2 separate regions of the Homo sapiens genome follow, and region 2 is linked to region 1. The links are contacts of gene promoters, found by promoter capture Hi-C in blood cells and fetal thymus (Javierre and others, 2016). All regions are on one chromosome and are shown on one strand. The core of a region is centred on a gene start or on the middle of the fragment in contact, and the rest is flanking DNA. Distances in the headings are between cores, read along the strand shown. Region 1 holds the start of AASDH (aminoadipate-semialdehyde dehydrogenase). Region 2 holds the start of SRD5A3 (steroid 5 alpha-reductase 3).

Region 1 (2,700 bases), core at 112-2,611:
GTATCATTAATATCAGAGAGTTGGATGATGATACTGGAATAATAAAACATCATTTTGGCAGCAATTCAGAGTCAATCAGAGGCAAACAAAACTGAAAACGTTTTAGGAAAAAGCTGACCAAGAAGACCTGAACTAAAGTAGCAGTAATGGCGATGAACATGACACTTAAAAAACGCAGGTTCTAGGCCCCTCACTAGAAAACTAGGGGATGAACCTCCGGGGATGGAGTCCAGGAATTTGGAATCTTCTAAAACATCACCACCGGCAATTCTGATGTAGCCAGCTGGGTGCTGGTCTCAAGACTGAGAACTAGAGGACATAGGGTCTAATCGGATGTAAGAGGTTAAGAAAGTGGGAAGGTTGATAACTGTCTGGCTGGGTGGATGATGGTGTCATCCCAACGTAGAAACATAGAAACATAGACAAGATACACTTTTGCCCACTTCCAACCTAAATACATAAATAAGGCTGTGTTAGTTTGAGTAGTCCATGGTACATCTTGGAAAAGTATAGTTGGCATGTGGAGATATTTTTTGCTTAGATTAGAAGCACAGTTTCTTGTCACCAACAACTACGGCTGCGAGAGCGTCCTATGCTTTTTTCTCACGTACTGTTTTGATGCAGAGCTGTCTTCGCAGTCCCTCCCCCGGCTAAAACCCCCCAAACAAAAAAATCCCGATTATTCTGCCACCAGACAGTAGCTTTAAAACACCTCTGTTATTGCCCTTGACGCTTATTGTAATAATTGACATGTCTCCAACTGTAACAATTCCCTTGGAAACAGAAAGTTCTATTCAGGCATATAGTTTACAAAACTCCACCTCGGACCTGCTTTAATTTCTTTACAGGTCCTACTAAATGCTCCTGTCAAATTCCTTAGTTATCGTTTCAATCTGCTTCCCAATTAAAATGTCAGCATCATGATGACAGGAACGTCGTTTGCAGGCGTCACTGCTGCAGCCATATCTCCAGCACGTTTCCAGAAAATGTCATTGGTTGAAAGCAATAACTCTCCTATTTCACAATGATTTCATCTCTCTTCACATCAACCCTAGGTGATGTTTTTATTCTCACCTTATGAACGAGAATACTGCGGCTCAAAATTCAAGAGTCTTGCCCAGAGTTTTTTGGCAAGTACGAAAGGGTTATGGCTCCAAACTGGTTAGCTCCGAAGTCCTTGCAAACCCTGTCCGAGACCATGCGCGACCCCAAGGAGCGCCTGAGCAGATAACCAAAAGTGAAAAAGCCTATAGACCTCTTCACTCAAGTTAGCGCCTCGGCTTCAGGAGAGGCAGCGCCAGCTCCACGCAGCCGGCCCGGGGTCGCTCGCACTGACGTCACGTAGCGACGCGGAAGATTTACGTATGGTGCCTCGCTCTGGGATAGCTTTACGGCTTCTGGGAGCTGCTGCTTCGCTGTGAGAAGTATCCGCGACGAGCTATCCGGGAAAGGGCCGAATGCGATCAAACCTAATCCGCGAGACTTGCTAAGTGAGTCGCGGCAGGGCGCGGTGTCCGGCGGGGGTCTGTGTGAAGGAGGCGAAGTGCCGCTAGGCCTGAGCCTGCTTCCACATACATTTGCTCAGCTTCAGGACCACTGCCTGACCTCGGATTTGATACATCGGGGTCTGGCGTGCTGGTGTGGTGCAGACTAACCCTGACCTGTGTGTACACTCCTGCGTCACTAGCCTCCGCCCCTCCATTCAAATGGAAATAAGTGTGCTCCGCGCTCAGCTACCCCCTAGAGTGGTTTCGAAGAGCAATGAAGAAATGTTTAGGAAGCTGTAAATTGCATTGTTACTCGTTGCATACCGTAAATTTAGAAGCCGGGGAATTGGGAAAATAAAGTTTCTAGATTATTTATCCATTTTTAAAACAGCCAGTGGCCTAGAGAGAGGCCCCATAGCAATTGAATTTGCTGACACTCTTAAGATCTTTGTTGACTAAATAGCAGCTTCTACAGTTGTAGCAAGTAAATTTATTCCTTTTACATGTAAAATCTGCTTACCAGAGTTTGCTTTTTTTTTTCCTTTTTTTTTTTTTTTTTTTTTTTGAGACGGAGTCTCGCTCTGTCGCCCAGGCCGGACTGCGGACTGCAGTGGCGCAATCTCGGCTCACTGCAAGCTCCGCTTCCCGGGTTGACGCCATTCTCCTGCCTCAGCCTCCCGAGTAGCTGGGACTACAGGCGCCCGCCACCGCGCCCGGCTAATTTTTTGTATTTTTAGTAGAGACGGGGTTTCACCTTGTTAGCCAGGATGGTCTCGATCTCCTGACCTCATGATCCACCCGCCTCGGCCTCCCAAAGTGCTGGGATTACAGGCGTGAGCCACCGCGCCCGGCCTTTTTTTCCTTTTTAAGGTCTCAAACATTTGGGCATTAATAAGTTTAGTATTCTCTACTGCAGAGAATGTTATTTGTGATTCAATGAATGAAAATGAAAACCTGAGACAAGAAGAATGGATTTTACCTTAAATGTCTGTAGCAACCATTGGGAAAATGGAAAGAAACATCTTAATTATCGTATAGATGTGTAGGTACCCTTCTGCGCTACCTGTATGTTGCGAAATGAACTCATTCCTCATAATTTAAGCGCCTGCTGCAGAAAGCCTCCCTTATATTTACATAATGATCATTGTATGTCTGAGGAAAGCTTAAAATTGTATCTTGTGCATTAAAAAGAGCTAATATTTATAGAAATGCC
Region 2 (2,700 bases), core at 84-2,583, 1.0 Mb after region 1:
CCCACTGCAGTCTCCAATGCCTGATCTCAGATGATCTTCCTGCCTTCATTCCAAGTAGCTGGCACTACAGGCACACGCCACCAAGCCCTGCCAATTTTTTGTATTTTCAGGAGAGACGGAGTCTCACTATATTTCCCAGCCTGGTCTCGAACTCCTGAACTCAAGCGATCCGCCTGCCTCAGCCTCCTAAAGTGCTGGGATTACAGGCGTGAGCCACTGCGCCCGGCCTAAGATGCATCTTAAGGGGCACTGTTCTATTTCTACCATCTCGAATAGTATTTGGCCAACTCTTTCCAGCTATGTCCTGAATTTAAAGTGGAAAAAGGAGAAGAAGAAAATTATAACAGGTCTCTATTTAAAACCTGACGATTTAATCCTTCGCTGAACTGGGTTACAGAATTTTTCGAAAGTCAAATGGAGCTTCGGGACGGGCCTGCCTATGACCTGCACCTTGGGCCACCTTCCCCAGGGGCACCTGCCAAGGTGCAGGTTAGGGCGACTCAGTCCTTTGTCCCCACTGCAAGGGTTGGGAAGAGAAACGGGGGAAGCCGAGGCCGAAGAGCCGGCCTAACTTCATTTCCACAAATGATTCCCGGTGACCTCAAGTTAGAGTATGAGCCACTGGAGTGCAGGGTACGGGAAAAAGGAGAATTTGGGGCAAGGGGCACTTCAATTTGCCGCCTAAATTCGCATGACCAGGCCTAAATTCGGATGCGTTGCCATTTCCCACAGGGAAAGGCTCCGTGCGGCTACCAGTTCACATTCCTCCAGCTGAGTGCAAGCGGCTCCGCTCTCCCTCGGCGTCCGCGGACACCCGGGCACTGCTCCCCGGAGCCACGCAGCAGCCGGGGCATGGCCGGGGCCAGGCCGAGGGAGCGCCGTGCTGCGCCCGGGAACCCGCCAGGGCCTCCCAGGCCGGGTCCCGCCTCTGCTGCCCCCTGCTGGCTGCCCGCGAGCCGGGGCGCCCCGAACTCTCAGCGCCTTGACCACCGCGGCTCGGGACCGGGGCGCGGTTACCTCTTGGGGACATCAAAGGCTCGGCAGGCGGCGGGGCGCGACGGCTCCCCACACTTGGTTTTCCCATAGCGGATCAGGTCCTGGAAGATCGCGCAGCCCGGGAGCAGGCCGGGCGGCAGGAGCTGCAGCAGTAGGGTCAGCAGGAAGGCGGCGGTCAGCGTGAGCCACACCGCGCGCAGCGGGTTCAGCGCCGAGTGCTCGGCCTCCGCCCAGGGAGCCATGGCCCGCGTGCCCGCCTTCCGCGCTGCTGGCGCCCCCACCGCCCGCTAGCCCGCGGAAGAGCGGCCACTAGCGCGCGGCGCACCGGTCTCAGCCTAGCGGGACGTCGGTGACGCGGCGCGGGGCGGGGACGCGCAGAGCCCCTCCCGGACTCGCCGCTCAGCCGCGGAGGTCCTTGGTCCTGGTCGCGCTGGCGCTGGGTGGTCGCTCGCAGTCCCTAATCTGGGCATGGGGATTCTTAGATGGAGCTCCAGAATATGATTCATCAGAAGCAAAGACGCAAAACAGACGAGACCACGTGTCTGCCACTCTTATCAACATTATCTCCAAAGCAAAAAATGGAAACCTTACATGTTGCATTTTAGTTTATTTAGCTAAATTATGATACACTGACATGTTAGAATATCATGCAGTCATTGAGAATTATTATGACGAGTGTAGAAACAGGGAAAGCTGTTTAGGAAACAATATGTGAAGTGAAAAACAAAACCAACCATAAAAATACATAGCTATGATTGCAAACAACTATATTAATATGAATGTGTGTATATATGGATAAAGAAGGCAGATCACACCCAAAAATGAATAATTATGTTAGGATGCTGGAAATGTGTTGGATATGTGTATAATGTAAACATGTAGACAAGTAATTGCACATAATAATAAAAATCATAGTGGTAAAAACTGTGTTTAAAAAACAGCAGTCGCTTACCAATAGGGTTCCAATCCTTAGAAGCAAAGTTTTTAAATTCCATCAGCTGTTTCCTGTAACATTTATCTCAGGTAGTGACAATGCTATTTATTGACTCACTGATTTTAAACAACACTGATTTTATTTACTATAAGTGAAAATCTAGCTCTTTTAAGTATTTAAAAGTCTTTAAAATGTTAATTCTGAAGTATTGTATGCCTACTGTATGACAGGCATCATTTTGGATACTGAGGACAGAGGGGTTTACAAGATAATTGTCACTGCTTATTTGGAGCTTACATTTTTGAGATTGGGTGGTGGGTGAGAAGTGGAAGAGGGGAGAGGTAGCCAACTCATCACCCTTACCCCAATGAGATACCCGATATGTGTGTTGAATAAACATCAGGGTGGGTAGGTTAGTGGGACTTTGGACTGTTAAATGAGCAAGCTTTTAAAGTTTTCTTCTTTGTGCAAAAGACACCTAAGGCTTTACCCGTCCTTTGACAGCCAGGTGATTAAGGATGGTTAAATTGGCATTCTAGCTAGGACAATGAGGCCTTATTGAGTGATCCTGGATCTCTTTTGCGGGAGTCACCCTTTCACTGTTTCTTTCTTTTCTTTTTTTTTTTTTTGAGATGGAGTCTCGCTTTGTCGCCCAGGCTGGAGTGCAGTGGCCTGATCTCTGCTCACTGCAAGCTCTGCCTCCCAGGTTCACACCATTCTCCTACCTCAGCCTCCCGAATAGCTGGGACTACAGGTGCCCCCCCAACCAC

The links. Contacts are between HindIII fragments. The CHiCAGO score rates a contact against its expected background, and 5 or more counts as called.
Region 2: a contact is called between the fragment with the promoter of SRD5A3 here and the fragment with the promoter of AASDH in region 1, in 1 of 17 cell types (total CD8 T cells). The highest score is 5.8, in total CD8 T cells.

The regions. Positions count from the first base shown.
Region 1 is chr4:56,386,152-56,388,851 of GRCh38, reverse strand. AASDH (aminoadipate-semialdehyde dehydrogenase) reads left to right here and starts at 1,361. Exons shown (of 15, transcript NM_181806.4): 1 at 1,361-1,490. RefSeq lists enhancers at 1,017-1,066, 929-1,435, 1,097-1,466, 1,436-1,943. The HindIII fragment of the contact is 3,410 bases long and covers 1-2,651 here.
Region 2 is chr4:55,344,875-55,347,574 of GRCh38, reverse strand. It overlaps SRD5A3 (steroid 5 alpha-reductase 3), which reads right to left and starts at 1,333. Exons shown (of 5, transcript NM_024592.5): 1 at 1,018-1,333. The coding sequence starts at 1,238. RefSeq lists silencers at 751-1,020, 1,231-1,400 and an enhancer at 852-1,612. The HindIII fragment of the contact is 3,550 bases long and covers 1-2,377 here.